6 separate regions of the Homo sapiens genome follow, and regions 1, 2, 3, 4 and 6 are each linked to region 5. The links are contacts of gene promoters, found by promoter capture Hi-C in human tissues and cell types (Jung and others, 2019). All regions are on one chromosome and are shown on one strand. Each heading gives the region's core, a stretch centred on a gene start or on the middle of the fragment in contact. The rest is flanking DNA. Distances are from core to core; before and after follow the strand shown. Region 1 has its middle 39 kb from the start of DMRT1. Region 2 overlaps LOC124902109 (a long non-coding RNA gene). Region 3 overlaps KANK1 (KN motif and ankyrin repeat domains 1). Region 4 overlaps LOC105375949 (a long non-coding RNA gene). Region 5 holds the start of DMRT3 (doublesex and mab-3 related transcription factor 3). Region 6 overlaps DMRT1 (doublesex and mab-3 related transcription factor 1).

Region 1 (3,755 bases), core at 487-2,986, 170 kb after region 5:
TCACATTCACCGGAGAAGAAAATTGAACAAGGTGATAAGGAGGCTTGTGTTCTCTTCTTTAGATCGGGCTTTCAGGGAAAGCCTCATGAGGGCATGATGTTGAGCCACACTTGACTTGAATTGCTAGGAAGGATGTAGCATGTGAAGAGAGGGAGAAGGGCATTCCAGGCAGAGGGAAGAGCTGTGCAGAGATCCCAGGGTGCAAACAAGCTGGGTGTGTATGAGGCACCAAAAGAGGTCCTGAGTAGCTGGAGCACAGCAAGAGACCAGGAGAGAGGGAGGAGATGTGGTCAGAGAGCTGGACAGAGGGCTGAATCATGCAGGCCTGGACAAAGGTGTGGGACTTTATTATAACTGTTAATCATTGTATATGAGTTTGTAAGAACACATTTATCCTTCTGCCTTTTTCTCTTTGACATTATTAATACACTTTCTCCATGTCATTACATAGAGCTCAAAGCCATCATTTAAAATCAATACATACAATTCCATCAAGTGGATAATAATTTACTTAACCATTTTCCCCGTGAAAAGCATGTCCTCTTAACAAATATCCCTGAGTGGCAATATGTAGGCCAGGCACAGTGGCTCACGCCTGTAATTCCAGCACTTTGGGAGGCTGAGGCAGGCAGATCATCTGAGGTCAGGAGTTCAAGACCAGCCTGGCCAACCTGGTGAAACCCCATCTCTACTAAAAATACAAAAAAAATAGCCAGGCGTGGTGGCGGTTGCCTGTAGTCCCAGCTACTCAGGAGGTTGAGGCATAAGAATCTCTTGAACCTGGGAGGTGGAGATTGCAGTGAGCCGAGATCACACCACTGCACTTCCAGCCTTGGTGACAGAGCGAGGCTCCGTCTCAAAAAAGCAAAAACAAAAATCAAAAACAACAACAACAAAGCAAAATAAGGAAATAGTTTGGACACAGACATGCGCACAGGGAGAACACATGAAGATGAAAGCAAAGATGAGGGTGATGCTTCTGCAAGCCAAGGAACAGCAAAGAGTGCCAGCAGACATCAGAACCCAGGAGAGTGGCCCGGAATAGATCCTTTCCTTACATCTCACAAGGAACCAACCCTGCTGACACCTTCATCTTGGACTTCTAGCCTCTGGAACTGTGAGACAGCAAGTTTCTGTTGTGTAAGCCACCCAGTTTGTACGAAACCCTAGCAAGCTAATATAATATCTGTGCCTGCTAGATAGCTAATGAATTAGAGAGTCCAAAAATATGTGACTGTGTCTTGGAAAATATAGAAGAAATAAAGCCCATCAATAGGTGATATTCATCTGAAGCCAATTTGTGGCTGTGGGCTTGAGTGCCACAAATTGCCAAACTACAAATTACAAAGATTTCACAAAATTCAAATTAAAGCCCATGTGGTTTCTGGAGACTCTGAATGGTCTGGCTTTGCCCAACTATGGTGTGTTATCGACAAATTATGCTACCCCATATTAATGCTGTTGGAGGGAGGAGCTAGGAACTGAATGTAAGCATCTTGATAAATTCTTTGTATTTTGCGCAGGTTTTCATGTTTTTCTTTGATTTCTAGGTGGTATAATACATGGCAGTTATTTTACATTTTGTTCCTTTTCTTTTTTGAGAGCTATACCTTTGTATAGGGGAAAAGTCACGTTCCTGTTCAATTTTAAATTCTTCTCTTCTAAGTTGTGATTTCCTTTAGCTGTCTCCAGCCCATCAGGTCTAATATTCATGCATAACAGTGTGCAGTGATGTTATGGAGGAAGATGACGAGTGGACACAGTGGGGACAGTCTCCAGCCTCCCGGCTCACTCACACCAAGGGGAGGAAAGCATTTTCTGAAGGAGCAGTGGCCAAGCCGTCTGATGGGCGATAGAGCCACCCTTCCCTTCCCAAAGCGCTACAAGAAGGGGGCCTTTTGGGGCGACTCACACTTGGTTTAGATGACAAAATCTCTCTTCTGAGGACTCAGCAGTGAAAGTACACAGTCTCAGCACAAAATCCAGTACAGTATAACCTTTTAAAGCCTTTGTCCTATTAAAGGCTATTTACCTGAGTTGGCAGGTAAAATTATGGCCTGAGGATAAAAACATGTAGGGCAGCAAATGAAAGAATTAGTGCACTGTTAAAATGCGATTTGGCATTCAAGCAGAGAAATCTTTACCTGTTGGGGCTGTCGAGGGCACCTTCAAAGGTCTTGGGCCAAGGACGCTGACAGGGCCAGAGAGGAGCACATTTGTCCCCACATTTCAGCAAGAGCCCTTTCCCACACTCACCTCCCAGTTCTGCTCTGGCAAGAAGTGTACAGGAAGGGGTGGATTCATTGTGGGCACTGCATTTAAAGTCCCCTCTTGCCAATCCCCTCACCGTTACGATGCATTTATTTTTCTTGTTTGGCTCTGATAATGATTCTGATTATCAGGTGACCTGGGGTTTGGGCCACTGGGATGCCTTTGCTTTTTAAAGTGCAAGAAAACGGGCAAGAATTACAAAAAGGCAAGTCAGAACCAAGGCATTTCAAAAACAACTTTATCGCTCTGCCGCCAATGGCCTTTGGAGGGGGAAACGTAATTGAATCACTGACTTTGAATACTGAGCCGCTTTGCATGACTCATTAAACTGCCATTTCCAACACTTTTGGCTCGTGCTGTAAGAATGATAGAATCCTATAACAATCTATATGTTTAAATTCTTTTCTATTTGAAAGCGCCTTGTGGTACAAGTGCCTTCAGATGTGAGCACAGACATCAGTTGAAATACAAGACAGTCGTAATAGAGCTAAATTTGATAAGCCACACAAGCATGACTCAGGCAACCCAGCCTCTTAAATCAGGATGCACAATTAATTGCTACTCTTTTATTTATTATCTTTAATCCCTCATTGGATACAGTTGACTTGCTACTTCCTGGGATGAGGCCACAGCATAAGCAGGGATGAATAATTTTTAAATTATGAAGCAATTTCTTTGTTACAAACCTGGGCTCAGATGTAAATTCTAATCATTTCCTTTTCCCAGGACAGTGCCCTCTGAACTCAAAAGGGCGTTCATCCTTTTCCTCCTTCTACCCGTAGCGGGCAGCAAGCCAGGCATGTCTAGTTCTTAGAGGTCATTGTTGTTTTTCTTGCCCTCACTAAGGAATTGGCATATTCCCCCGAGACTCCTTTTTGACACCCTAAAGGCTCATTTAAACCCTATCTGATATTACAAATAATAAAACTCTCCTGGGTGAACTAGCTCTTTCTCCAACCCTCTTCCACCCTGCCTCTCACTTGGCTTCTTCATTCATGTTCATTTTTTGTTGTTGTTTTTTTGAGATGGAGTCTCACTCCATCACTCAGGCTAGAATGCAGTGGCGAGATCTGAGCTCACTGCGACCTCCACCTCCCGAGTTCAAGTGATTCTCCTGCCTCAGCTTCCAAAGTATCTGGGATTATAGGTGCGCGCCATTATGCCCAGCTAATTTTTGTATTTTAGTAGAGAGGCGGGTTTCACCATGTTGGTTATGCTGATCTCAAACTCGTGACCTCAAGTGATCCGCCCTCCTTGGCCTCCCAACATTCATGTTTATTTTAGCAAGTTTTGTACCTCTTAGGAAATAAGGTTTTTCTTACTTTGAGCTGTCAGTGGTTTTGAGCTGAGCCAGAATGAATAACTCAACCGAATGAATTAACAGGCTTTGATTTCAGGAGCATCAGGAAGCCATTTTCCTTCCTGCTTATTCCACAGCTTCCTCCATTGTCTTGGTGTTGCCCAAAATGCCACTCTTAGGAATT
Region 2 (3,677 bases), core at 1,119-3,618, 220 kb after region 5:
TTTCTGGGAGACAGCAAAGCCTCCCTCCTCCTTCCCCTCATCCTCAGGGTGGGAGTGACAGCCTCATCACTTGCATTTTCAAGTAAATCTGGCTTGCAGAAAGCAGCTGTGGATTCTCTTTGGCTTTCTTTCTAGAAGTTTCTGTCTTCCTAGTCAGTGAGTCACATGACTTAAATGTAACAAGGGCATGGTTCTCAGGTGCCTGATGCTTCTGGGCTTTGTAGAGTACTGGCCAAACCCGCCATGGTGGCCATGGTAGGCTGGGGCGTGGGACTCAGGCACGCAGAACACTGCACAGTTGGGTCTTCAAGAGCAAGGGCATCTCCAGAATCAGACTTCTGTGTCCTTAAGCAGGGTCTAGAATGTGTCAGGGAACCAGTTCTGGGCCTGAAGAATTGTTTTTTGTCCTGTTGTTCCTAGATTGTCATAGTCAGAGGAAGAGACTGTCTCACAAGCCCCATGCAGAATTTTGGGACCGTCGATGTTTGTGTAAAGGCAGGTATAACTTGCAGTCTTGCCTTTGGAATACATTTGTCTTCCTAAGTTAATCTGTTACAGGACACCGTATTTGATTTCTTGTCTGGAATTTGAGTCTCTTACCACTAGAAATACGGTGTTGTTTTGGTGAAGAATGCTTTTCTCTCTGCAAGAGTGGCAGTGTGGCGAAGTGATTCAGTGCAGGGACTTGGTGCAGGTCTGCCTGGCTTTCTCACTAATAGCTGTGTGATCTCGGACAAGTTACTTAACCTCTCGATGTTTATGTTGCTTCATCTATAAAAAGGGGATAGTAATGGTGTTCAACTACTTTATAGGTTTCTGGAAAGGAGAAAATAAGGGAACGTGAGCAAACCACTCAGAACAGCGCCTGCTGTGTGGTTAAGTGCTAAGGGTTTGTTATTTTTCACGACTTGGAATTGGAACAGAATATGAAATAAAGGGTGTCAAGGCAAAGCAGGCTTGTCAGTAGCTTGGAGTAGTGGCAAAAGTCTTGGCTTAGAAGGCAGGAGGCCTGCTCTTTCTGATCAGCCTTCCCGCTAAGTAGTGAAGCCAGTCTGAGCTTCACTTTATTTTAAAATGAGGTGGTAGCTGGGTGTGGTGGCTCATGCCTGTAATCCTAGCACTTAGGGAGGCCGAGACAGGAGGATCATTTGAGACCAACCTGGGCAACATGGTGAAACCCCATCTCTACAAAAAATTCGCCAGGCGTGGCAGTGCGCACCTGCAATGCCAGCTACCTGCGAGGCTTTAGGTGGGAGGATCACCTGAGCCCGAGAAGTCCAGGCTGCAGTGAGCCATGATTGCGCCACTGCACTCCAGCCTGGGTGACAGAGTAAGACCTTGTCTCAAATAAAATAAGATGAGGTGGTGATAACAAATGAATGCATAAACAAAAGGCAGAATATACATACAGTGCACTACTATTCAGCTATGAAAAGGAATTAAGTTCTGACATGTGCTACAACATGGATGAACCTTGAGGACATTATGCTAAGAGAAATAAATCAGACACAAAAGGACAACGGTTGCATGATTCCCCTATGTGAGCTATCTAGAATAGGCAAAGGCATAGAGACAGGAAGTGGAACTGAAGCTACCGGGGTTGAGGGAGGGGATATGGACAGTTTTGCTTAATGGTTATGGAGTTTCTTTTATGGGTGATGAAAAAGTTTTGGATCTGGATAGTGGTGCTAGTTACAAAATATTGTAAATACAATTCATGTCACTGAATTATACACTTAAAATAGTAAAGATGGCAAACTTCATATTATGTATGTTTTACTACAATAAAAAATTCGAACATAATTAAAAAGAAGAGTGAAGTAGGCTGATGTTGAAAGAAAAAGTTACTTGCTATAAACGTTGAAACTTTTCTAGACCATGAGGCTACCAGACAAAAAAGTGACTAGCCTGGGCAACATAGTGAGATCCTGCCTCAACATTAGCCTAGTGTGGTAGAGTGCGCCTGTGGTCCCAGCCACTTGGGAAGGCTTAAGTGGGAGGATCGCTTGAGCCCAGGAGGTTGAGGCTGCAGTGAGCCGTGATTGCACAACTGCACTCCAGCCTGCGTGATAGTGAGTCCCTGTCTTAAGGAGAAACCAAAAAACCCCAAACACATCTTATTTTGTGACTGAGATGATACACAAACACACACACACACACACACACACAAAGCTTCATGAAATGATGTTACCATCAATATATCTGATACAATCAAGATTTCAGATTTATTCAACTTTTAAAAATGCTTGTAGTTACATTAATTTTGTAACCCATTATGTCCTGTTTTAAAAACATTGTTGGCCAGGCACGGTGGCTCATGCCTGTAATCTCAGCACTTTGGAAGGCTGAGGCAGGTGGATCACCTGAGGTCAGGAGTTCGAGACCTGCCTGGCCAACATGGTGTGAAACCCGGTCTCTACTAAAAATAGAAAATTAGCCAATGTGGTAGTGCCTGCCTGTGATCCCAGCTACTTGGGAGGCAGAGGCAGGAGAATCGCTTGAACCTGGGAGGTAGAGGTTGCAATGAGCTGAAATCGTTCCACTGCACTCCACCCTGGGTGACAGAGGGAGACTCTGTCTCAAAATAAATAAATAAATAAAATTAAACGTTGTTGGGAGACTGGCTCATGCTTGGATATGTCTCCCACTGGCCACTAGGGAGAGCTGATAGGTCAGGCTGAGGAGTGAAGGGAACTGGTGGGGTTGCAGGTAGTAGTAGCCTCTGTGCTGGCTGGGACCCTTCTCAGCTAACCTCTCGCACTCCTTACCAAGGCCTTTCACAGGGGGCGGGCGGTGCCCATTTGGAGTTGAGTTGAACGAGTGTCTGTTTATTTGAAGAAACCTTCCCTGCCTCATTCCCGCCTGGGGGAGCCCATTTAAATGTGTGCTAGTTGTTGGATTTTTGGCTCAGCACTTTGGACCCTCTTCCTCCTGGAGAAGCACAGAACATGTCTCTTTCCTGTTGGCATAACGGCCCCCTTCAGATGTGTTACTGACAGCCTTAAGACTTGCCATGAACGGGCACGATGGCTCACGCCTGTAATCCTAGCACTTTGGGAGGCCGAGGCAGGCAGATCACGAGGTCAGGAGTTGGAGACCAGTCTGGCCAACATAGTGAGACCCTGTCTCTACTAAAAATACAAAAAATTAGCCAGGTGTGGTGGTGTGCGCCTGTAATCCCAACTACTTGGGAGGCTGAGGCAGGAGAATTGCTTGAACTCGGGAGGCGTAGCGTGCAGTGAGCCAAGATCGCACCACTGCACTCCAGCCTGGTGATGGAGTGAGACTCCCTCTCAAAAAAAAAGAAAAAGATTTGCCACGAACAACCTGCAAAATTCACCTCACTGGACAGGTTCTGAACCCTACTGTGTGTCAGGCGCCCTCCTCTCAACCTCAGCAAATGAGGCTGGTTCTGCCTGCCATTTTGGTTGTCAGGAAAATGGCATCCCTAGAAGGGAGTTGAAGCTCAGCAGGGAAGCAGCACAGAGAAGCAGCCATGCATGGGGTTGGAAGTCAGCTCCAATGGGGACTGCCTTGCCTGCCCTGGGCTCTCTCTGAAGCAGGTGTGACAAGTCACCTATGTTGGCCGGGTGCGGTGGCTCATGCCTGTAATCCCAGCACTTTGGGAGGCTGAGGCGGGTGGATCACCTGAGGTCAGGAGTTTGAAACCAGCCTGG
Region 3 (3,821 bases), core at 304-2,803, 240 kb after region 5:
GGCTGAAATGCAATGGCTTGGAAGTCAGGGTGGTTGTTCTACTGGTTGCTCTTGAGAATAAACGATTTTTGGAATCTAGGCACTCAGCTGTGTTTAGGAAAGTGAAGCAGGTAGTGAGCTATTCATGAACGAAGTGTTTGCAAACGCTTACGTATGGAACGTTGGACAGGGTGGTACCTACTTATCCAAACATTACTCATTCTGAGACTCTGAATTTACTACTCTGGCCTGTCGGGGGTCCTGAAAAGCAGAATTCCAATCATATAACATCCAGCTCCAGAATTTATGGTCGAGAACAAATGCAGTTAAGTCCCCTTAACAGAATCGATGAACCAGACCTTTTCTATTCTTGTAATTCTTAAGGAGTCTTCAGGGATAAAATTATCCTTCGGGCATTTAAAAGTTCCTTCGGCACTTTCTCTGAAATGACCGGAATGGTGAGTGTTAGAAAGCAGCTTTTATGTGGGACCAAATATGAAGTTAAAATGTTCAGAATGTTTCTATCATAAAGGAAAATAAAAGGTACCATGAACATTTACCTTAAGATCCCAAACAACTCCATACTAAGGACATGTTTTTAAAAGTGGGTGTTTTTAATGCAGAAAATAAAAGGCCCTGTGGAGGAGAAGCAGGTGAATTCGTGTGCGCTTCGGGGCTCCTTAGCACCTCGGACTTTGCGGACTCTGCTCTGCATAGATGCTGAAGCATCCTAGATCTACACCTTATGGAGCCAGAATCTCAGCCTAGAAGGGGGAGCAGTAACCATTAAGATAAGTGATTAACCCAAACCATCCAGCAATGGAATTAAAATTATTTAATTTGCCAAGATGTTTTATCAACTTCTAAGGGTATACTAAGCTGTTCCTGTCAGGAGTGATAGTGAAATCTTGTTTTCAGCTTCCCTGGATATTATCTACTTCTGTTTAAACAATCACTCTGGCTGACTGTATCACCAGCTCTGTTTATAGTCTAGAAAGCCTGAAGAGGAGGGGCTTGAAATTCCTTCCTGTAAGATGGAAGCAGTTATACCCTAACATGGCTCCAAAAAGAGGGAACAAACACACTTATAAGAGAAAGGAAGGATAAATCTGCTTGGCTTTCTTCTCTGCATCAATTCCAAGTTCCCAAAACAGAGCAGAAGAGATTGGACAGTGGATGAAGACAGAATTTCAGAAAATTGGACAGTATGATTGCATATTCTAAGGTTCACACTACATCCTCATTAATCAGACTGAGATACTCTGACTTCTCTGTCACATACTAGAAATAAAAATATGTATTACAAAAATTAAAAGACTTGGGGTCTATGTGGCATCAGGCTGCTCCATTTGAACAAGAAGTTGAAAGCTCACAGTTTCTTGAGGGTACCATCTGTGTATGTGCCCCTCCCTCACTTCATGTCTAAGATGTCCACTGGCTCTATTCTGGGATAACAAGTTTCTACTATTCTATTATGGTTGAGAGACAAGAATAACATGCCCTTTGCTCTATGCTGTTTCCCCAATAACAGTATATTTTGGTGAGAATGGTGATCATTTGACCATCTGTTAAGGTGGCTTTGCTTAGTCCCCATCTTGACTAACCACACACTTCTGCAAGGACAGCAGTCATGGAGTAAGGTCAAATCAAGTGGTCCACACGCACCAAGGCTGTGACCCTGGGCCTGTAAGCAGCACTCTGCCTCCTGAGTGCAAACCGGCCAAGCCCGCATGATTCAGCTCAGGAGGGAACGTGAGACATGCTTCTTACCAGGCATACACCTCTCACTTTTGAATGCAGCTGAACTGCAGCAAGAAGATCCTCAAAACCTCCTTTCAAAAACAGATCTAGAATCTGTGTCACCCAGTTTTGTTTAAACTTCAAGCCTCTTATGAATGACTCAAGAAAATTCTTGCCATGTCATGTGGAAAAGCAATAAAAAGGATTTTAGCATGGTCAGAGAATTCAGGAGTGGCTCAACCAGGTTCTCTGAGATGAGTCACAACCCAAGTACTGTTAGAGAAGAGAGGGTGGAAGGGCAGCCAACATACCGGCATCTAACAGCAGCTTCACAATCTCGAAGTTGGAGTGGGACACGCTGTAATGGAGGGCTGTGTTGCCGTTGCCGTCTGCCAAGTTGATGACATAGCGGAGGACATCTGGGGAAATGGCCTCAAAAGCAGCTATGTAGTCCCCCACCATGGCTGGAATGGCTGACTTCTGACTGGACACGCGGAACCACTCGTGCTGGAGGGTGTTCAGACAGAACCTCTGCCAAAACACCAAGTGGTCGTTAGTTCTTCTATTTATAGACTTTCTGAGACCTAGTTGAAAGCACAAGTAACCTGTCCTTTTATAGTCAAAGTATATATATGCAGTTAGAATCTGCTCTCAAAAACCAACAGCCCTAAGAGAAGCTTCAAACACCAAACTGGGACATTTCTCCTGATTTTAAATGACGTGTAGATTCTAATGTCTATAAAGGAGACCAGACAGCACCATGCAGAAGCAGAGGCTCTGGAGCCAGACCACTGAGTTTCAAATGCAGGCTCTGCTACCTAAAAGCTTTATGACCCGAGGGAAGTTATTCTGCTTCCGTTTCCTCATCTGAAAAACTGGATAATACCATGCTTTCATAGTTTCTGTGATGAGAATAAACACTCAGGCTTGGCTCCATTTATTAAGCTATTAATATGATGTAATCATACTGGCCTTGCAAACAATTTTCATAGAAATTAGGAAGAAATTAACTAGCCTACACTGAATTATGCTGCTTCCTTCCTATCCAGACCAAACTCACCTCCTTCAACTCCTCAGCACAGCACTAGGTTGGGAGACCGTACGTGTATAGCCAACCCAATTCCCACCCCAATCCCAAATACAACTGTTCAACCACGGAAAGGGAAAATAAAAGGGAACCCCGTCTGGAACTAATTTCATTCTCTCATCAGCTCCACTCTGACTTCCTTAGGCTGTGGACACATGAAGAAGGCACTTGCTTTGTGGATGATCAACTCAACCCTGGGTCACATGAAGCTCAGTGGAGACTGAGCAGTCAGTACTGGTGATGAGGATGACTACAGTGTCTTTTCAATGGGCCTTCATATGAGTTTAATATTCATTTCTGCTGTGCTTACTCTTTAAAAGTTTAAAAATATATCAAAGAAAGACAGCCTATGTCAGAAGCACCAGAACCCAAGAAGTCCTCTTTCTGTAGAAAAGGTAGAGTTGGGATTATAGAGCTTCCATCTCTTTATCATCCTGCTACTGATTATTTAGTTTTAACCATTTCAATCACATTTTGGGTCACTTGAAGAGTGTCCTTTTTTTTCTGTATATATTCACATTCCTGTTTCTCTGGAGTTGTCACACTGAAAGAAGGGAAATTATGTCTTCTGGTCATTCTAATTCTATTACTGCTAAATAACTGGTGTCCTGACATGATTATCTAGCCCTGGCATTGTGTTTACTCGTCCACTACTTTTCACAACACAATACTTTAAACACTTTCACACCAAATGAAAATTCAGTTAAAAAGATGTACCCATCACAGTGTGTGTGGATGACACCATGCTCGGCAATTTGGAGGATGCAGGAAAACAGAATCCTTCCCAAAGGCCACGTAACCTAGTATTTTGAGAACAGTGAAAGAAAAGTGTACTATGGCTATAAAATCTGGGGTTGTAAGGCACCAGTTTTAAGTTTAGGTTAAACCTGATGGGAAATACTGACCCTGCAGTGAGATTTTATGGTTTTACTAGTGACCAGGGTATAGCCAGGTATTTTCATGAATACAAATCCAAGAATTTCAATATGTAGTTCTATGTTTCCCCTTGACTAGG
Region 4 (3,612 bases), core at 743-3,242, 150 kb after region 5:
GGAATGCAGTGGTGCCATCACAACTCACTGCAGCCTCAACCTCCCAGGCTCAAGTGATCCTCCCACCTCAGCCTCCTGAGTAGCTGGGTCTATAGGTATGTGCCACCATGCCTGACTAATTTTTTTTTTTTCTGTAGAGATGGGGTCTCCCTATGTTGCCCAGGCTGGTCTTGAACTCTGATTCAAATGATTCTCCTGCCCTTGCCTCCCAAAGTGCTGGGATTAGGGGCATGAGCCACTGTACCAGGCCTGTATATTAATTTATTTACTTATGTGGCCTATATATTAATTTATTTAGTTATCACAACAGCCATTGACAGAAGTCATGTCATTATCCCCACTTTAGACTTGTGGAATCTGGGGTGTACAGAGGCTGACTGATTTGCCCAATCTGAAAAAAGGGGAAGAGCAGTCGGACCCAGGTTCACTTGTTTTGTTTTGTTTTTAAGAAACTGTCTTGTTCTGTTGTCCAAGCTTGAGTGCAGTGGTGTGCATGTGCCACCATGCATGGCTAATTTTCTTTCAATTTTCTATTTTTTGTAGAGACAAGGTATTGCTAGATTGCCCAGGCTGGTCTAGAACTCCTGGCCTCAAGCAATCCTCCCACCTCTGGCCTCCCAAATGTGAACCTAGGACAGATTCACACTTTTAACCACATCCTAGGAAGGTCCCATTGCTTATCTCTTGTTCCTCAGATGGTGGCAGTGGGAACAAGTGGGTAGTGGGAAGGGAGAAGAGGGATATTTCTTAGGTCCTGGGATGATCTTAGACAATTGTGTGAACGGTGACAACAACTGAGTGTGGGTGATCTACACTGAGCACTCTTGAAGCCACAGCAAACGAAACAAAGGGGCAGGTAAGTAATTGTTAAGTGTGGTGCAGACCAGTTCTAAATGCTATAGAAAAATCAGGAGAGAAGTGCAAGATTTCTGTTCATAGAGGAGTTATTACTGGTGTCAAAGGAACTGTCTTTTGGATACAGGAAACAAGGGGCTGTAATTAGCTGGGTGTGGTGGTGCACACCTGTAGTCCCAGCTACAGGGAGGCTGAAGGAGGAAGATCACTTGAGCCCAGGAGTTTGAGGTTATAGTGAGCTATGATTGTGCCACTGCACTCCAGCCTGGGTGTCAGAGTGAGCCCCTCTCTCAAAACAAAACAACAAGATGTGTGACGCCTACGAAAGTCTTTCCCATCTTTTCTATTTGGCTTGGTTCCTATCTGTATCCCCAGCACCAAGACCAAAACCTGTTATCCCTAAGGGGCTCATTAAATTTATTTATTTATTATTATTATTTTTTTAGACAGCGTCTTGCTCTGTCACCTAGGCCAGAGCTCAGTGGCACAATCTCGGCTCACCGCAACCTCTGCCTCCTGGTTCAAGTGATTCTCCTGCCTCAGCCTCCTGAGTAGCTGGGATTACAGGCACGCACAACCATGCTCAGCTAATTTTTGTATTTTTAGTAGAGATGGGGTTTCACCCTGTTGGCCAGGCTGGTCTTGAACTCCTGACCTCAGATGATCTGTCTGCCTCGGCCTCCGTAAGTGTTGGGATTACAGGCGTGAGCCACTGCACCTGGCCGGTTTTACATTTTCTGAGATTTCTTGCAGAGTTACTGTGTGCATACACAAGTAAAAACATATATATGTGTGTTACTTTCCACTTCCTCTCCACATTTTTTATACACATGGTGGCATAGTATACATACTGTTCTGTATGTGGCTTTTGTTCACTGTGTATATCAAGATTATTCCCTATCAGTCCAGAAGGATCTTTTTCAACCTATTTGACCGCTGAATCCACTGCATGGATGTGCCACACTTTATCCAGTCCTTTACATTGGTCTTGTAGGTCTTGTTCTTCCTTGGCTCTTGGAAACAGTATTGCAATGAGGAATGTGAGGATGATGAATGAGGAGATTTTGGGCTAGGGAAGTATAATGATTTAAAATCATCACTCTTTTTGACTAACCAGAAGTCACCACCACTCATGGGTGTGAAACCACCCACTGTCAGAATCTGATAGCCCAAAAAGTGGACCAGTCTAATGAAAGGAAGACAGTGGGCTTTGGGGCCAGGCAAACTTGAATTCCCATCTTTGTTCTACTCCTTATGACTTGAATTCCCTTGGAAAACCTATCAAATTCCTTTTTAGTTTTTCTCATCTAAATAGGGGATGGTAGTGCTCCTAGACTATGAGGATTAAATTAAATAAGACAATGAATATTAATAGATTGCTTAGGTACATGGTACATAGAAGGGAATTTATTCCTGCCATCATCTCATTGTGCTGTTGTGTCGTAGCCCTCAGAATTCTCTTTCTCATTCTTCTCTTTCTCATTCTTCTCTTTCTTATTCTTCTCTTTCTTATTTTTCTCTTTCTTATTCTTCTCTCTGCCCCTTTATTCCACTTACCTTGACAAGAGCAATTGAATAATCTGGAGGGCTATGGCATGGATAAAACTTGAAGACATTACGCTAAGTGGAAAAAGCCAGTCACAAAAACCCACATATTATATGAGTCCACTAATACAAAATGTGCAGAAAAGGCAAATCTATAGATTGATGGTTTCGTAGGGTTAGGGGTTGAGGGGAAATGGGGAGTGACCACTAATGAGTACAGGGTTCCTTTTTGAGGTGGTGAGAGTGTTTGAAAATTGACATGGTTGCATAACACTCAGTATACTAAAACTCATTGAATTGTACATTTTGAATGGGTAAATTTTAAGACATGTGAATTAAAACTCAGTAAAGTGCTAGGCCAGGCACGGTGGGTCACGCCTGTAATCCCAGCACTTTGGGAGGCCGAGGCAGGCAGATCACGAGGTCAGGAGATCAAGACCATCCTGGCTAACAAGGTGAAACCCCGTCTCTACTAAAAATACAAAAAATTAGCCGGGCGTGGTGGCGGGCACCTGGAGTGCCAGCTACTCGGGAGGCTGAGGCCGGAGAATGGTGTGAACCCGGGAGGCAGAGCTTGCAGTGAGCCGAGATCGCACCACTGCACTCCAGCTTGGGCGACAGTGCAAGACTCCATCTAAAAAAACAAAAACAAACAAACAAACAAACAAAAACAACTCAGTAAAGTGCTTATAAAAAGTGCTCCAGGCCAGGTGCAGTGGTTCACACCTATAATCCCAGCACTTTGGGAGGCCGAGACAGGAGGATCTCTTGAACCTAGGAGTTCAAGACCAGTCTGTGCAACATAGGAAGACCCCATCTCTACAAAAAGTTTAAAAATTAGCTGGCCTGGTGTCACATGCCTGTAGTCCCAGGTACTTGGGGGCTGAGGTGGGAGGATTGCTTGAGCCCTGGAGGTCGAGGCTGCAGTGAGCTGTGATCATGCCACTGCACTCCAGCCTGGGCAACATAGCAAGGTCCTGTCTCAAAAAACAAAAACAAAAACAAACAAACAAACAAAAAACTCCGGCAGGAAGGTAGAGGAGAAAGAAAGGAGAGGATTGTGGAGCAGCACAGAGACAAGACTGCACACAAGGTACAGGTCTCAGACAGCACTGGGCATCAGAGGGCCTAAACTTTAGTCCTGGCTCTGCCTCCAGCTGACTTTGTGACCTTGGAAAAGCTCTTTCACTTCTCTGTACTTTGTTTGCCTCA
Region 5 (3,858 bases), core at 12-2,511:
TGTTGGCCTTGGCTCCTTCCCTACACCTACCTACCCATTCCAACCCCCAAATGGCAAGGACCTCTAAAGCCTGCAGCCAGGAAAATCCGACCCCACCGTAGTGAGTGTGCGCACGTGGGTTTTAATTTTGTCCTGTCTCAACTCCGTTGTCTCCCTGCTCAATCTGACACGTTCCGAACCCTTCAACCTGGGAAGGCACCTGGCGATACTGACGCACAGTCCCGTCGTTTGGCTGCCCGGAGGCGCCTTCCCTGCGGGCGCGAGTGCCACTCGCGCTGGGTCCAGACTCAGCCGGCTTCTCCCGGGAGAGGAAGCCCCGGCCTGGCGGAGAGTAGGAAGGAAAGCCCCGACAGGCCCACGTCCCAAAACTTTGCCTCCAGTCCTCCCAAGTGGAGCTGCAGCTGGCACTCCGAAGTTGCCCCCGCGCCCGGCCAAACTCCCGCACCTCAGACGCTCTTACCTGGCTTGGCGAGCTGCGCCTGCAGAGCCCCGGGCTGCGGCTCGGCAGTCCAACGCAGCGCGGCGGCCGCGGCCAACTCGGCAGCAGGGCGCGGCGGCTGCGGCTGCGACGGCTGAGAGGCTGGCGGCGGCTGCGGGGCGGCGACGGCGTCCCCCGGCGGCGGGGGCCCTGGCAGAGCGCGCAGCGAGTCGGGGATGAGGCTCTCCAAGCTCTCGTTGGCCTGCTGCCGGCGCAGCGCCACCTGCGCAGCCATGACCCGCTGCCGCTCGATGATGAGGATGCACTTCTCGCAGGTGCAGTCCTTGAAGCGGCAGTAACGCTTGTGGCCCTTGAGCCAGGACAGGACGCCATGGTTGCGGCAGCGCGCGCACTTGGGCGTGCGCTGCAGGGGCGCCCGTGGCGGCTGCGACACCGGGCCGCCCATGTACAGGTAGGGGGAGCCGTAGCCGTTCATGCCCCGGGCTCCCGAATGAGTTGGCAGCCTGGCTGCGGGAGAGGGCCAGGGAGCGCTGGACGGCGGGGCTGCGAGGCCCGCTCAGGGGCGGCCTCCGGGCGACGCGGCCCTTGGTCCCGCAGCCCCGGTGGTCGTGTGTGCTCCGGGGCGGCCGGAGGTGCCGCAGTCGTCTCTCCAGCTCCCTTCGCGCTCACAGCTCGGCCTCCCAGCTCACGCCCAGCCAACGCCGACGCGGGCCTCTGCCTTGGGCGCGCAGCCGGGTCGGCACGTCCTCCTTCGCGGAGGCGCTGCGGCGGCTGCAAGGAGCCGGCGACAGCTCTGATTAAGGTCTGAGCCAGCTCTTCTGCAGCTCCCTCGTGAGCCGGCCGGACCCAACACCTCCGCCGCCCTCCCCCAACCCCTCCTCCTTCCCACCGCCACCCCCGCCCCTGGGGTCCCTGTCTCCTTGCACTCCCCGCCCCACGCCTTCCTCCTCCTTTGCGCCCCTCGGGTGCCTGCACTTCACCTTCCTTGCCACCTGCAGCCAGGCCACTCTCGCGGGGGCGCTCGCGGCCCCCTCCTCCAAGCCCTCTCCGCTACCCCAGCCCGCGGCTGGAGACTGCGGCGCTCCAGAACGCGGCGGTGCTCGCGGGGCGGAGAAGGGGAGGACCAGCGGGAGTGAGGGTGGGGGTGCCTGTAAGCGAGTGAGGTGGCCGCTCCGCTTCTCTCTCTTCTCCTCCCTCCAGTCCAGATCTGGCCGCGTTTTTCCGAGCCCAAGGCCGCTTTTATCCCGACATTTGGCCGCAGAAGCTCAGCTCCGGGAGAACTCGAACCTACGGGAGTGTTGCGGTTGCACCCCGGACCTGGGTGGAGTTTAGGATAGGGGAGTGAAGTGATGTTGGTTTAGGAAAGTTAGGCTCTTTTCGTAATTTCCTTTTAGAACGTATTTTTTTCTCTTTTGTTGCTTTAGAAGAAAATGGTTTTGGAGATCTGCCGGCCCAAGGATGACAAGCCATTTTGCAGGCGAATTTTACTTTTCTACCCTCCTGTCCATGTTTTAATATAAAACAGTATCCTGAAAGGTCAGGGACGTACGTGCTCCTGTAAAGGATTTGTTAAGCGCCGGGTATAAACTTTCAAGGGGCAGACACAGAAGCCACATTGGCGCCCCCAAAGTTACCGATATCCTCTTCCCTCGCTCCCAGCAGCTACTGGAAGCAAACGGAGGTCTTGCGCCAGCCACTCAGTTCAAATCCCCACGGATTCTGTGATTCAGTTATGGATATGGGATGGGGCCACTTTTTCACCTCCTTAACCCATAGACCCCAGTCATAGATGTCTTGGGGGAGAGGGTCCTTCACAAGATGACAGCAGAAAACTTTGTTTAGATTATTTGCGTGTTCCCATTCTCCCAGGAGTAGCGGGCTTGGCCTAGTGCAGACTATCGCTATATATGCACAAAGAAGGCCCTCCACCCTCGCACCTCCCCACTGCCCATCAGCAAACAAGCAAAAACCAAAAAACAAACAAACAAACAAAACAAGTGGATACACTGCAGGGCAGCACAATAGCTCTATGCGAAGCGGGGCAGTTCCAGAGCCTTCGGTGGATGCGCTTCTGAGAGCGTGCACCAAGCCCATCTCCTGGTGGGGAATCAAATGCTAGATGAGAGCGTAGGCAAGTCCGCTGCAATGTCCGACCCCTCATGGGCACAGAGGCCCTTGTCCCCTCGGGGAGGCCGCTTTTCTCTGTACTGCCCTGGAAGTAAGCAAGCAACCTGAAAACTTTCCTCTGGTGTTTGCCATGAATTCAAGGGAAGCACCTCCAGGCGTTCTAGCAGCCAACCCTCTGCCCAGAAGGCTGATTTGCGGAGAGGAGGGTTGAAAACCGAACCCCAGTTGTGTGTTTCCCTTGAAGCCCTTAGCTGTTCCCGTTTCATACGCGTCCGGGAGGTGGGGATCGCGGGACACTGACCTGGTAGAGTGTGGACAAGAAGCTCTAGCATTCGAGTGCTAACCCTGGGAGGCCATCCTCCAAAGCCGCGTGGGGTAGGGACCCCTCGGTCTTGCCCCTTCCCCCACCACTTTAATCCTTCCTCTAGTCTCAACCTTCTCTAGGAAAACAAGCCCTAAAATACAACTGGAAGGAATTTTGTAAGCTCTGGGGACGGGAGGCAGAGGTCGCCCCCAGCCCTGTAGGCCCGAGGCTAGGAAATGGGGAGCTGGACGCGAGTCATTTAACGTGCTGCGATATAGAGGGCCTCAAATGACACCTTAACTGAAAACTATTGCGCTGAAACCTCCGGATCTCTTGGAAACGTGGGGACCAACGACTTTTTTCAAAACCAAATTTCTTCCGATTTTCTTCAAACAGTGAAACGAGGAAGTATAAAGAACTTGAGTATGAATAAATTTTTAAAAGGAAAGCAGAAGAGCTCTGCACCAGGTTTGTGGGGGCACTTTCACTACCAAGGCGACCCCTTTTCCCCCGTCGGTCACCTAGCCACCCTATCTCGTTGCCACTCAAACAGTCTGGCATTTGGTCCCGGGGGCCCGTTTCACTCCGGTGCACATCGGGGGCTGAGATCTAAATACTCATTTGATATAGTGCAGTAATCCTTTTCTCATATTTGATGGGAATGTTTTCCATATCCCAGTATTTGACAACATCTCCCTATAGGGACAGGTTTGTATTTATGTTGGTAAAATGTCCCCTGCCTCAAAGTCTATTGTAACCCAACACCTGACAACCCCGAGTCCCATTTCTGTTTGCAGAAAGGGTTTATTCAAGCACATAATGGGATCCCAGCAGAAAGCCTTTCAGAACAAGGGGCTGTGGTAAACTTCACCACATGAACTCCGTTTCCAGGGCTATTAAGCTTTTAATTGGAAAATAGCAGAGGAAATTTCAAGGTGACTATAACGTGTTAGCAGTTAGTGCAGAGAAGAAAAGCCGAAGCGGGAAT
Region 6 (3,478 bases), core at 1-2,500, 130 kb after region 5:
TTTTGACAAGCAGCTCGGCCGCACTGGGCAGTGGGATGGGGTGGCTGATACCCAATTCCTCCTCCTGGGCCTGCTGCCTTCTCAGGGCCACCTGGAAGCACACGACAATGAGTCATCCTCCAGCACTCCAGAATCAGCTTTGCCAAAACACAGAAGCCCCACCCATCCCAGACACCATGATTCACTAGCTCTGGAGGTGAGGTCTGAAAATCTCCCATTTCTTCTTAAACCCACCCAGGTAACTATGATGTGCAAAGCTGAGAAACAGTTTTGAGCCAGACAGTAGGTGCTCAAAAAATGCTTGTTGCCAGACATGGTCGCAGATACCTGGAATCCCAGCTACTCAAGAGCTTGAGGCAGGAGACTCACTTAAGCCCAGGAGTTTGAGGCTACGGTGGGCTATAATCGCACCACTGCACTCCAGCCTGGGAGACAGAGCAAGACCCTGTCTCTTAACAAACAAATAAAAAAGCTTGTTAAACAAATGACTGTGTAGAATAAGATTGGCTAGGGAGGATCAGGAAAAAACTATAGTCAGCCAAGGGGAGGAGTACAATCTGAAGAGTAGAGTGGGTCAGAAGCACTAACAGATTAGGAAGGAAAATGGGATCACTCACTCCTTCATTCCATAAACTTGTAAAAGGCCACTGTACTAAAAACAGGTACCAGTAAGAGTAGATTGTATCCTACATTACTTACTGTTTAACAAATGAAACAGGGCCAGGAGTGGTGGTTCGCACCTGTAATCCCAGCACTTTGGGAGGCAGAGGTGGGCCGATCACCGGAGGTCAGGAGTTCGAGATCGGCCTGGCCAACATGGTGAAACCCCATCTCCACTAAAAAAAATACAAAAATTAGCCAGGCATGTTAGCCCACCTGTAGTCCCAGCTACTCGGGAGGCTGAGGCAGGGGAATTGCTTGAACCCAGGAGGCAGAGGTTGCAGTGAGCCGAGATCGCGACACTGCACTCCAGCCTGGGCGACAAAACAAGACTATGTCTCCAAAAAAAAAAAAAAAAAGGCAAAAACAGGAGGCAAACATGCAACTACAACAAAAGGCAAACTGAGACCAACACCACAAGAGTGGTACACAGAAGTACCTTTCACTCCTACAGAAGAAAGTCAGAGAGAGAAATGTCTTTCACATGTTAAAATCAGCCAGCAGTAGTATTTGGACAGAGCCTTGAAGAATAGGATGAGGAGGACTTGGACAGGCAAGGATGAAGGGGCAGTACATATCGGAATAATATGGAACAGGGTGGGCAGGAAAGGCAGGCAGGGTCTGCTTAGGAAAGCCTGCAGAGCCCTGATTCCTGGGGTGGAGGGAGCATGCGGGAGAAGCAGTGGGGAAAGGGGCTGGAATTTGGTGTTGAAGTCCCTGAAGGAAGAAGAGGCTGAAGGCAGGGAGGAAGGGAGAAGACAGGTGTGTGATATTCCAGACAGACAGGAAGAAGAGAGCCAGAACTGGGGACTGGAAAGGACCTGACATACCCAAGAAGCTCTTCATGGTCCCTCTTCAATAACACCGTTAAAGATTGAAAAAAGGCCAGGCGGGGTTGCTCACACCTGTAATCCCATCACTTTGCGATGCTGAGGCAGGTGTATCACCTGAGGTCAGGAGCTCGAGACCAGCCTGACCAATATGGTGAAACCCCATCTCTACTAAAAATACAAAAACTAGCCAGGCATGGTGGTGTGCGCCTGTAATCCCAGGTACTCAGGAGGCCGAGAGGAGAATTACTTGAAGCCAGGAGGTGGAGGTTGCAGTGAGCCGAAATCGAGCCACTGCACTCCAGCCTGGGCAATGGAGCAAGACTCCGTCTCAAAAAAATAAATAAATAAATAATAAGATTGAAAAAACAGGTTTAAAGAAAATTAATTGTATTTTTGCTTTCTACATGTAACAAAGACTTTCTGTTGAAACTAAGGTATGGTGCTTATGAAATGACAGTGAAGCACCCACACCGCAGAGCTGCCCAAATATAAGCCAAAGGTGAAATCAAAACGTTCAATTAAAAAACACAACTACAGGCCGGGCGCAGTGGCTCACGCCTGTAATCCCAGCACTCTGGGAAGCCGAGGCGGGTGGATCACCTGAGGTCAGGAGTTTGAGACCAGCCTGGCCAATATGGTGAAATCCCGTCTCTAACTAAAAATACAAAAATTAACCGGGTGTGGTGGCGTGTGCCTGTAGTCCCAGCTACTCGGGAGGCCGAGGCAGAAGAATCGCTTGAACCCAGGAGGCGGAGGTTGCCGTGAGCTGAAATCATGCCACTGCACTACAGCCTGGGGGACAGAGCGAGACTCCTGTCTCAAAAAAAAAAAAAAAAAAGAAAGAAAGAAAGAAAAACAACTACAATTTATATGTTGTTTTAGGAAAACCACAGTCCAAACACAGGAAGCTGATTAATTGGGAAGTAATTTTCCTCATAGCCAAAAAAAAGTCTTCGACTTAGAAAAATTCATCTTAAATAATTAATTACTTAAAATTAAATAATTAAGCTTAAATCTTGGATTTCCTATTACTAACCAAGAGGCTTAGAAAGAGAACATCAATGAATCTGGCCAGAAACAAGTTTTAAACCCCTGCAAACCTCTGAAGCACATCCAAAATGCACAGGTATCTACTCCATATGCTAAGGACCTTCTCTCAAGGTTTCTTAGAAAATATTATATAAAAAGGAAAGGGGATAACAATTGATTAAAAATGCAACTATACAATTATTTTAGAATCATACGTAAGATCAATTTCAAACTATTTAAAAATGACTAGAAGTAGTTGTTTTATGGATTTTTAAGGATTCATCTGGCACAGTACACACCTTCTGGTGTAGAAAATACTGAAGTTTCCCATTCTAAGTGACCTTGAGTTGCTTTTGTTTTTAACGGTGTAAGCAGCCTCCTCTACTAATAAAGGTTATTCAAAATTAATTCCTCTACTAGAATATTTTTACTACATTTTGAGAAATCCCCCAAGCATGTTCTCCACACTAAATAAGCCAACGACTAAATGTTTAGAGAATTTTTCTGCCCAGAGTATAATTTAAAAGTCCATTAATTTTTTTCAGTAAACTCATTGTGATGCATTTTACTGCCACACCCAGTGTATTCTTTTCACCCACTACAGATTAAGCTTTAAAAATCTATTAAGAAATTAAGCAAAACAATATCTATTTTCATGACTGCACTCGCCATCTGTGAAGCCAAAATACGTTTAGTATAAAACACATTTGTAAAAATCTGATATATTATATAAAAGCATATAACCTTCGGGCATTTGTTTTCAATGGAGGATATTTACACGTTCCTAATCAAAAGTAGCACATCGTTAGCAAACATTTCTTCGTTATCTTTTCATTTTAAATAACCTGTCTTAAAAAGATGAAACAACTTTTAACTGGAAATAACGTGGATTACTGCCTTCCAAAAATCCTTTTAGAATACTAAAGACATTAACTTTCCGTTAAAATGTTAAATTA

What was found. Contacts are between HindIII fragments. The study calls those that stand out against the background at their distance.
Region 1: a fragment that was not itself captured here is called in contact with the fragment with the promoter of DMRT3 in region 5 in 3 of the 25 tissues and cell types used here (H1 embryonic stem cells, IMR-90 fibroblasts and lymphoblastoid cells).
Region 2: a contact is called between a fragment that was not itself captured here and the fragment with the promoter of DMRT3 in region 5, in 2 of the 25 tissues and cell types used here (adrenal gland and heart left ventricle).
Region 3: a fragment that was not itself captured here is called in contact with the fragment with the promoter of DMRT3 in region 5 in 2 of the 25 tissues and cell types used here (H1 embryonic stem cells and lymphoblastoid cells).
Region 4: a contact is called between a fragment that was not itself captured here and the fragment with the promoter of DMRT3 in region 5, in 3 of the 25 tissues and cell types used here (lymphoblastoid cells, mesendoderm cells and thymus).
Region 6: a fragment that was not itself captured here is called in contact with the fragment with the promoter of DMRT3 in region 5 in 5 of the 25 tissues and cell types used here (H1 embryonic stem cells, heart left ventricle, liver and 2 more).

What each region holds. Positions count from the first base shown.
Region 1 is chr9:800,755-804,509 of GRCh38, reverse strand. No RefSeq gene overlaps it. Among named protein-coding and RNA genes, the nearest start is that of DMRT1, 39 kb to the left of the region's middle. The HindIII fragment of the contact is 5,888 bases long and covers 1-3,755 here.
Region 2 is chr9:756,713-760,389 of GRCh38, reverse strand. All of the region lies in intron 1 of LOC124902109 (a long non-coding RNA gene), which reads left to right. Among named protein-coding and RNA genes, the nearest start is that of KANK1-AS1, 73 kb to the right of the region's middle. The HindIII fragment of the contact is 4,502 bases long and covers 118-3,677 here.
Region 3 is chr9:736,714-740,534 of GRCh38, reverse strand. It overlaps KANK1 (KN motif and ankyrin repeat domains 1), which reads right to left. Exons shown (of 12, transcript NM_015158.5): 8 at 2,031-2,250. Among named protein-coding and RNA genes, the nearest start is that of KANK1-AS1, 53 kb to the right of the region's middle. RefSeq lists an enhancer at 1,447-2,646. The HindIII fragment of the contact is 5,158 bases long and covers 1-3,821 here.
Region 4 is chr9:820,624-824,235 of GRCh38, reverse strand. All of the region lies in intron 1 of LOC105375949 (a long non-coding RNA gene), which reads left to right. Among named protein-coding and RNA genes, the nearest start is that of DMRT1, 19 kb to the left of the region's middle. The HindIII fragment of the contact is 7,652 bases long and covers 1-3,612 here.
Region 5 is chr9:974,058-977,915 of GRCh38, reverse strand. DMRT3 (doublesex and mab-3 related transcription factor 3) reads right to left here and starts at 1,261. Exons shown (of 2, transcript NM_021240.4): 1 at 461-1,261. The coding sequence starts at 914. RefSeq lists enhancers at 1,094-1,593, 1,594-2,095, 2,628-3,858. The HindIII fragment of the contact is 20,406 bases long and covers 1-3,858 here.
Region 6 is chr9:843,573-847,050 of GRCh38, reverse strand. DMRT1 (doublesex and mab-3 related transcription factor 1) reads right to left here. Exons shown (of 5, transcript NM_021951.3): 2 at 1-91. Among named protein-coding and RNA genes, the nearest start is that of DMRT1, 3.6 kb to the right of the region's middle. The HindIII fragment of the contact is 3,134 bases long and covers 1-2,817 here.